Regions from separate parts of the Homo sapiens genome. Here region 2 is linked to region 1. The links are contacts of gene promoters, found by promoter capture Hi-C in blood cells and fetal thymus (Javierre and others, 2016). All regions are on one chromosome and are shown on one strand. The core of a region is centred on a gene start or on the middle of the fragment in contact, and the rest is flanking DNA. Distances in the headings are between cores, read along the strand shown.

Region 1 (5,005 bases), core at 1,715-4,214:
TGCGTATATAATTGTGTGTGTATGAGGGTGTGTGAGTGAGAATGTGTGTGCATATGTGAGTGGGTTTGCGTATATAATTGTGTGTCTGTATGAGGGTGTGTGAGTGTGAGAATGTGTGTGCATATGTGAGTGGGTGTGCGTATATAATTGTGTGTCTGTATGAGGCTGTGTAACCATGTGTGTGCATATACGTGTGTGGGAATGAATATATGTAGTCATGTGTCCATATGAGGGTGTGTGTGAGCACGTGCGTGCATATGTGTGTGTAATTGTGTGTCTGTATGAGGGTGTGTGAGAGTGTGAGCATGTGTGTGCATATGTATGTGTCTTGGAGGTTGGCTGGCAGCGCCCACATATGTATGTGAGTGTAGGAGTGTGGGAGTGTGTGTAATTGTGTGTCCGTACGAGGCTGTGTGACCACGCATGTCCATATATGTGTGAGTGTGGGAATGCATATATATAATTGTGTCTGTACGAGGGTGAGAGTGTGAGCAAGTGTGTGCATATGTATGTGAATGTGTGAGTGTGGGTGTGTAATTGTGTGTCTGTATGAGGGTGTGTGTGACCATGTGTGTCCATATGTGTGTGTGCATGTAATTGTGCGTATGAGGGCCTGAGCAATGTGACTGTGTGACTGTCACACATTGTGTGTCTGACAGTGTACATGTGTACGAAATGGGATGTCTCTATAATGAGGCACGTGTGTGACTGCATATGTGCATGACTGTGGATGAGTGTGCATGCATGTAATCATGTGTCTGATAGTACATGTGACTGTGTGTGCGCATGTGTGTGTGTGCGTGCCTGCCAGTTTGTGTCTGTATGAAAGTATTTGAATTGTGTGAACAGGTGTGATTGTGGGAGCATGTTATGAGTGTGAGTGTATGTGAGTGTGCTTGTGATTGTGTGCCCATGGGAAGGTCTGTTTGTGTGTGAGTACCTGTGCACGTGAGAGTGTCTGAGCGAGCGAGCGAGCGTGTGTGCAACTTGCATAAATCTGTCTGGCACCAGCAAAGTGGCTCAACTGTCTTTAGAGACAGAGGTCCCTTCCCTCCTGTTGGGGACCTCTTGACCTGCTCCCTCCCCTCCAGCTTCACCCCTGTCCAAGGAGGCTGCTCCTGATCCCAGGATTCTACTGGATGGGGGGTTGGGGAAGGGTGTCACCTCCTTTCCTTTATAGGCATGACCAGGCATGGCCCCCACCACTTATGCCCACATCCCACAGGGCAGGATGTAGTCACATGGACACGCCATGCAGTCAGGGGGCCTGGGAAACATTCTCTCTCTTTAGGTGAGAGCTCTGGGGAAGAAGGGCTGAATGGACATTGGTGGACACTGGCTGTCCTGGCACAGCTGCCCAGGTGCTCTGCAGAGTAGATATTTGTGAAACATTAAGAAGGCCCTGGTGGCCAGGTGCGGTGGCTACACCTGTAATCCCAGCACCATGGAAGGTTGAGGCGGGTGGATCACCTGAGGCCACGAGGTGGAGACCAGCCTGGCCAACATGGTGAAAACCCATCTCTACTAAAAATACAGAAAATTAGTCGGGAGTGGTGGTGCATGCCTGTAACCTCAGCTACTTGGGAGGCTGAGGCAGGAGAATCGCTTGAACCCGGGAGGCAGAGGTTGCAGTGAGCCAAGATCACGCTATTGCACTCCAGTCTGGGCAACAAGAGCCAAACTCCGTCTCTCTCTCTCTCTCACACACACACACAAAAGGCCCTGGAGACAAAGGAACACTCCTTGTCCTTTTCTCCTGGCACAGCACAAGATTCTGTTGCTACATCTTTATTTACTGAGCATCTAGTATGTGCTGCACCTGGCACTGTTTTGTCTTTTTTGTTTTGAGACAAGGTCTTGCTCTGTAGGCCTGGCTGGAGTGCCATGGTACCATCACAGCTCACTGCAGCCTGGAACTCCTGGGCTCAAACAATCCCCCCACCTCAGCCTCCCTACTAGCTGTGGTTACACTTGCGCACCACCACGCCCGGCTAATTTTTTAAATTTTTCTGTAGAGACGGGGTCTTACTACATTGCCCAGGCTGGTTTTGAACTCCTGGCCTCAAGTGATGCTACGGACTTGGCCTCCCAAAGTGCTGGGATTCCAGGCACAAGCCACTGTGCCTGGTAGTGGACATTGTTAGCAGTGACTAAAGCAGAGAACGAGAAGGGGGAGGCCGCTGTAAACACATGAAGACAGGCAGCGTAAGAGAAAGTCACGAGGGCAGGAATAACATCCAGGCATACTTCAGATCCCAGCTCAAGAAACCACTCCCAGGCCAGGCGCGGTGGCTCACGCCTGTCATCTCAGCACTTTGGGAGGCCAAGGCGGGCGGATCACAAGGTCAGGAGTTTGAGACCAGCCTGGCCAACATGGCGAAACCCCGTCTGTACTAAAAATACAAAAGATTAGCCGGGCGTGGTGGCGGGCGCCTGTAATCCCAGCTACTCGGGAGGCTGAGGCAGGAGAATCGCTTGAACCTGGGAGGCAGACGTTGCAGTGAACTGAGATCGCACCATTGCACTCCAGCCTGGGTGACAGAGCAAGACTCCCGTCTCAAAAAACGAAAGAAAAGAAAGAAACCACTCCCAGACTCCCTGCCTGGGCGGGATCCTTTGATCAAGCCCTCAACATGCCTTGGGGCTCTCTTCACAATGGTAAGTTTGCATTTGTTTGTGTGATTCTAGGCCTCCTCTTATTTTCTTGAACAGGCCTCATCTGGCTTTGTTCATCTTTATGTCTCCAGCATCCAGCACAATCCCTGCCATTAGGGTCATGGCTTCATAAAAACGTCACGAATGCAACGCAGAAGTGCATGCATGCATGAATAAATGAATGATGCATGAAAAGAGCAATCTCCCTGTCCTGGAAGCAGCTTCCCCTAGGGGTGGGGGTGGGGTGCGGAGGCAGGGGCAGCCAGTGATGTCACAAGAGGTGGCTGGGATGGAACGTTCTGGAAGGTTGAATGGGGTAGAAGGCCTGTTGTGGAGGGAAACCACCCATCCTCCTGCCTCCCACCACCACCATCATCCTGGCTGGACGGAGAGGGTGACGGGGGCTGGGAAGGGGCAGCTCATGTTCAGGTTTCCAGGAGGGGCTACCTGTTGACTGTCTTTGCAGGAAGAAGAAAACACCTGAGTGACCAGATGTCCCAGCTCCAGGTGCCTTGCCAGATGGCCAGAACCACACCTCTTGAAGAGTGACAGGTGCCAGTGGTATGGGAGAAGGGCATGCGTTTTCTTTTCTTTTTTTTTTGAGACAGGGTCTCACTCTTTTGCCCAGGCTATAGTGCAGTGGCACGATCTCAGCTCACTGCAACCTCTGCCTCCCAGGCTCAAGTGATACTCCCACCTCAACCTCCCAAGTAGCTGAGATTACAGGCGCCTGCCACCATGTCCAGCTAATTTTTTTTTTTTTTTTGAGACAGAGTCTTGCTCTGTTGCCCAGGCGCAATCTCGGCTCACTGCAAGCTTCGCCTCCCAGGTTCACACCATTCTCCTGCCTCAGCCTCCTGAGTAGCTGGGACTACAGGTGCCTGCCACCATGCCCGGCTAATTTTTTGTATTTTTTAGTAGAGATGGGGTTTCACCACATTAGCCAGGATAGTCTCAATCTCCTGACCTCGTGATCCACCCGCCTTGGCCTCCCAAAGTGCTGGGATTACAGGCGTGAGCCGCCATACTCGGCCTAATTTTTATATTTTTAGTAGAGATGGGGTTTCGCCATACCAGCCAGGCTGGTCTTGAACTTCTGACCTCAGGTGATCCACCCGCCTCGACCTCTCAAAGTGCTGGGATTATAGGCACGCGCCACCATGCCCAGCTAATTTTTGTATTTTTAGTAGAGATGGGGTTTCACCATGCCAGCCAGGCTGGTCTCGAACTCCTGGCCTCAAGCGATCCACCCGACTCAGCCTCCCAAAGTGCTGGGATTACAGGTGTGAGTCACCACATCTGAACCCTACATGGCCTTTTAAAATTGTGAAACATATAATGCATATAAAATAACACAAAGCATATCTGTACGATTTAATGAATAACGATAAATATCTGTGTGCCCTTTTCACTTCGTGAAATCGAATATTACTAGTAACTTACAAGTCCTCTGTAGAGAACTCCTGAGCTCAAGTGATCCACCTGCCACGGCCTCCCAAAGTGCTGGGATCACAGGTGTGAGCCTCCGCACCCGGCCGATCGTGTGATTTTTAACGTGCAGTTCCCTGATGACCAAAGCTACTGAGCATCTTGTCCAGGATTTGTAGCCCTTTCCAGGCTCCTTTTTTGTGAACTGCCTGTTTACATTTTTCATCATAAAACACTGGGTTGTTTACATTTGTCTTTTAAATCCAGAGTTCTTTTCATACTCCGGATACTAATTTTATTTGCCCATTTTGCATTGCCATAAAGTAATACCTGAAGATGGGCAATTTATAAAGAAAAGAGGGGCCTGGTGTGGTGGCTCACACCTGCAAATCCCAGCACTTTGGGAGGCCGAGGTGGCGGGGTTGGGGGGGGGGGGGGGGCTTGCTTGAGGCCAGGAGTTCAAGACCGGCCTGGGCAATATAGCGAGGCCCCCAGCTCTACAAAAATAAAAATAAAAATAAATTAGCCAGGCGTAGTGGCATGCTTCTGTAGTCCCAGCTATCTGAGGGGAAGAGAGTTCCAGGCAGAGGGCACAGCCCGTACGAAGGCCCCAAGGAAGGACTGCACCTGGTGAGTTGGAAGAACAGTGAGGAGGCCCACGTGGCTGCAGCAGAGTGAGGAGGGGGAGGGAGGAAGGAGGAGAGCACAGGGAGGTGCAGGGCCTTGTGGACCGTGGGGAGAACTTGCGCTTTTACCTGGAGGGAGGTGGGAGCCATGGAGGGCTGCAGGCAGAGGAGAGACAGGGTTGGGCCAGCATTTCACTTTTTTATTTTTATTTATTTATTTATGTATTTATGTATTTATTTATTTATTTATTTTTGAGATGGAGTTTCACTCTTATCTCCCAGGCTGGGGTGCAGGG
Region 2 (4,899 bases), core at 2,084-4,583, 68 kb before region 1:
CACCCCCATGGAGAACCACACGTCTAAGGCCACACCTTTACTCCACACAGCATTTCCAGATTCACCAAACCACTCTCCGTGCTTGTCCCCTCAGATTACTTCATGTCATGCAGCTGTTCACATCTGGCTTCTTGGCCAGCCAGCCCTTCTTGAGAAAACAAAGTCTGGATCTATGTCATCTCAGCAGCCCCCTCACAGATCCCTCACCCCAACCCCAGACCCTACGTAGCACATTGCCTGCAAAGATGCTCAAGACGTGTTTTGCAATGAACAAGAGAATGAGCAGCCCGCCTGCTCCGGGCTGCTCACCTGTTCTAGCCACCTTCACCATGTTGGCCTCCAGCTCCCGTCTTCAGCTGAGCACAGGGGCCTGTCCCAGGATTCTTGGAAGCGGCTTCCTAAGGCATCATGCTTTTGTGTTCTCCTTCTCTTACCAGCCTTTCTTTCCCTCTCACGTTTCTCTCCCTTTCTGACCATGAGCAGGGCTGCAGTGCAGCTGCTGATGGTCAAGATGAAGATGGGGAATGTGCCAGTGAAAACCTGGCATGCGGAGGCCTCACCTCACTCACCCTCTCCTGTCCCAGCTTCAAAATCTTTCAGAGCGACTCATGCTGCCAGAGGGTGGAGGAGTGGACCTTGAAATGACAAGTGACAGTTCCTCAGCAGTAGCATCTCCTGCTTTCTCAGCCTGGTGACCTGACCCGGCAGCACGCCCACTGGGCACCTGTGCCCACCTGGGGATGGGGTCTCGTCCTGCCTGTGTGACCCTTCCTCCTGACAGCCATCTCTAGAGACAGCCAGTGAGGGCAGGGCAACAGGCAGTGCATGTTCTTTCCACATCTCCATGACTGATTCTGGCCAGGAGGAGGCTGGCTTTCTGGATCCCACCAACATCACATAGGGGACCTTTTCAATCTACCTCCTACCTCCCCTCCAGTCGTGATTTGATTCTGGAATTTAAGAAGCGGAGAAAGAGCCTAGTTCAAATTCAAGAATTTCCATCTAAAACCACAGCATGGAGAGGCCCCTTTAAAAACCACCTAACCCAGCTCTTTCATCAAACAGATGAAGAAACTTACCTAAAGATGTTAAGTGGTTTGCCCAAATTGCAAAGCCTGATATATGGGAAAATACTTCCATGGGAAATAAGAAAATGATAAATTTAAAAAAAATTTTAAATGAGGCTCTAATTCCTGAAAAATGACTTACTTAAACTGGGGACTGGGCAGAAAATAATATTGTAGAAGGTAGAACAGCATTTCTTTGGGAGGATTTATCTTTTTAAGTATATAGTGGTCTTCTACCACTATCCTACAACAGGTTGCAGGACAAATAATGTATTTTAATCTTTGGGGGAGTCTTTGTGTAAGTCAGACCTTATTCATTTTCATTCCAACAACACTCGCAGCCATTGGATCCTAATTATCACATCTAATAAGGCTGATGGCTAATCAGCTTGCCTTTTTAAGAAAAAAAGGCCGGGCACGGTGGCTTATGCCTGTAATCCCAGCACTTTGGGAGGCCGAGGCAGGTGGATCATGAGGTCAGAAGATCGAGACCATCCTGGCTAACACGGTGAAACCCCGTCTCTACTACAAATACAAAAAAATTAGCCGGGTGCGGTGGCGGGCGCCTGTAGTCCCAGCTACTCGGGAGGCTGAGGCGGAAGAATGGCGTGAACCCGGGAGGCGGAGCTTCCTGGGCGACAGAACGAGACTCTGTCTCCAAAAAAAACACAAATGACATTCCATTATAAGTTTCTGCTGCAAAAGAAAGTTGGGAAATTTGTTTAGATACTTTAAATAGTCCTAAGATTAGCTGAAATGCCGGTAACAAACGTGCAATGAACATTTTCTTGGGGGCATTCAGCAACAAAGTGAATCGTCCTTAAAAAAAATCCATACAACTAAAGCGAGTCTCACCACGGGAACCACAGGAGCTGTTTTAGTGAGGGGCTGGAGTGTCTGTTACAGGCGGCACTTTTGCGGCTGTTGCTGCATTAGTCAGATTGCACTCGAGATGAATGAGGAAGAATAAAGTCTTCACCAAAAACCTGTCTTGGCTAACAGTTCTGAATTTATAGCCCTGGCAGTGGGGGCGGGGGCTGGGGGCGGGGCTGGGAGGAGGGGAAGAAATGTGTCACCCGCTCTGAATGAAGTTCAGGGGTGGTGTTTACCTAAGCAACAAACCCTTGTCAACAATCGCTATCTCTGGCTTGCCAGCGGAGGAGGTGGGGGAGTGAGGCTGTTTTGATCAAAATCCAACCTGTGGCTGCAAAGTGCCCATCAACAGGGCACTTTGTTAGTGGGAACGTGCGACCTCTCTTAATAAACATAACATACACATCCCACTGAGGGCCACGGGTGGACCCAACTTCTTAACAGGAACATTGAGCACATGAAACCAGAAGGTGCTGGGTCCAATTTCCACCCTCAGCCAACCCTATCTGTGAATGTCTCTACATGTGAGCCAGCCAGGGCTCAACTCTTTGCTCTTCTGAAATTCTTAGGCAGCAGAAATGAAGGCATCGTGCTGAAAAGCGCTCCAGAAATTGCGGATTTATCAGTGATGTACGGTAGTAGGTTGGACAAGTAATGATTTTCTGAACACCAGGAATTAGATCAAAAAAGAAATTCCACTTAAGACTAAAATAAGTCTCCAGTTGAGAGCAGTCTAGGACATATTCGAATGGCCAGAAGTTTGTTTCAATGGGGCCTCTGCGTTTGTGCAGCCTGGGAGTCAACATTACAATATTGGTTCTTTCAAGCAGATCCCGAGTGGATCCATGTCTGCCTGTTGTGGCAAATCAAACTCAAATTTAATCAGAGAAAAATATATGCAGATGTTCAATTAAAACCTGGAGTCCGCAGTCTTGGCACTGTTTGCCCGGCCCTCATTGTTTGCTAAGTAACAACGGTTGCCAGGGGCAACGCAGTCCACTCCCGTTTCCAAGAGCCTGTTGCTGGGCAACCGGGAGAATACTTCCCAAACCAAACAATGTCATCCCGGAGCAACCCCCTCTATCTCACATTAACCAGATCTAAAAAAAACCCTCTCAAATATGTAATCTATTATTTTCAGAAGCCCTAAGAGAAAGGCAAATAATCTCTTCTCTATAGTAACTGAGGGGAAAACAGTTTACCATATTTGTTCTGAAATAACAAAACCCAAGGAGGAACAACTCTCTCTGAGGTAAGAGGGCATCACAGGAGGGATTTCAATCCTTCCTAGTACTGGGAGGAGAAAGTGCCCTTTTCTCCAAGAGGAAAGAATCTATTTATCATCAAACAAACAATGTGGGAGAGTTCATAGCTGCACAAGTGTTTTCTGGGCGAAGTAAAATGAATCATGGATTAAGCTATTTGGAAAAAAGTGTGAAAACAGAGGAGTTGATACCAAATTAAAACGACTTTTGGAAATATCATGTACGTATGGAACAAGTGCAAAGGGAACCACTGACTCAGCGTCAGAAATGCCTTGTGGGGCTTTGCCGGGAGGGACTTACAGTATATCTTTGACATCACTGCGCCGGCTCTTCCCTCCCTACCCGGAGAGAGGAAGACTTTTCTAAGAGGAAGCCAGGCCACATCAGATGCCCCCAGATGGCAGGACACACAAGGGACACATATCTCCGGAAAGAGGAGGCACATGGTTGGGCAATCTCGACCCATGAAGGGGGAAAAGAAAAGGGCTAAACTGAAGCTAGTGCAGCTTTTGTTCTGCCTGGAGCAGTTCAGGCTGAGCATGGCTTCTCTGAGGCTTTGGGACCAGGAGAGGGTGAAGTGGCACCACCACCTTTCAAGGGGAACACAGAGCTCTAAGCAGTGCTCTTGTTTTTGGTGGGCCCAGCCAAGGATCTTAAAACATTTTGATAGAATGAGCAACATGTAGCTGCAGCCTCGATGGGTCAACATTTTGGATGATAAAAGCACACAATGCTGATAGATTTGTGCATGACCAAGCATACCTTTCAAGGAGCTCTCAGCGGAGGTTTGCCCTTTGAGACAGACACAGTCAGTGCACAGAAACTGTTTTTTTAAGATATCATCCAGGAGTCATTCCTAGAATAGGAATGGAATAGACATGCCTCCCTGAGAAGAAAGGAAGACAGATTCTATACTGTTAGAATTTGAATCTGTGTTGCAGGGAGATGAGGAATTTGAAGCCAGACTCTTGGGCTGTTAATGTATGGCTAAGTGGTGATGTGGTGACAACCTTGAATGCTAGTCCTGGAGGTCAAATCACCAGCAGCTGGTGCCATGGGAGGCTTTGCTTAGGGGACACGGCTGGGTTCTGCCTGGATGCTGCATCCCAAGGGAGGCATTGAGGTGCGGCTGTGAGGACTCCAAACCCCATGTCCAGAAGGATGAGTAACAGAGATCCTGTGTCATTCATTGATTTCAATAAAATATTTATTGGATCCATAGCATGGGCCTGGCATTGACCAGTCATCAAAACACAATTCCCTGCCCTCATGGAGTTTCTATTCTAGACCATGCGGGAGGATAGGAGCATATGGACAGTAAACAAGGTAAGTGAGAAAAATATGTCGTACGTCAGATGACACCCTATATCATATGGTGACAAGTACCAGGGGGAAAAGGAAGCAGACAGAAGGAGTGCTGGGATAGGAAGGGGTTGCAATTTTTAAAGCGTTGTCAAATGCTTCCCTGGGTGGGCTCATTAAAGAGATGAGGAAGGTGTGGGACGGAGCTGTCCAGATATCCTGGGGAAGAGCGTTCCTAATGGAGGGAAAAGCCAGTACAAAGGCCCCGAGGTGGGACAATGCCTGGCTTGAAACTGGAGCTGAGTGAACCAGAAGGCAAGGAGAAAGGCCCACACAGGCCATTGTAGGGGCTCTGGCTTTTGCTTGGGGTAAATGGAAGCCATCACAAGGTT

The links. Contacts are between HindIII fragments. The CHiCAGO score rates a contact against its expected background, and 5 or more counts as called.
Region 2: a contact is called between a fragment that was not itself captured here and the fragment with the promoter of ACSBG2 in region 1, in 2 of 17 cell types (monocytes and neutrophils). The highest score is 5.2, in monocytes.

Annotation. Positions count from the first base shown.
Region 1 is chr19:6,132,703-6,137,707 of GRCh38, forward strand. ACSBG2 (acyl-CoA synthetase bubblegum family member 2) reads left to right here and starts at 2,965. Exons shown (of 15, transcript NM_030924.5): 1 at 2,965-3,207. All of the region lies in intron 3 of LOC105372255 (a long non-coding RNA gene), which reads right to left. RefSeq lists enhancers at 1,929-2,832, 2,833-3,735. The HindIII fragment of the contact is 9,635 bases long and covers 1-3,469 here.
Region 2 is chr19:6,063,889-6,068,787 of GRCh38, forward strand. All of the region lies in intron 1 of RFX2 (regulatory factor X2), which reads right to left. The region is part of intron 1 of RFX2-AS1 (RFX2 antisense RNA 1); the gene reads left to right. Among named protein-coding and RNA genes, the nearest start is that of RFX2-AS1, 3.7 kb to the left of the region's middle. RefSeq lists enhancers at 1,994-2,495, 2,010-2,304. The HindIII fragment of the contact is 9,198 bases long and covers 1-4,899 here.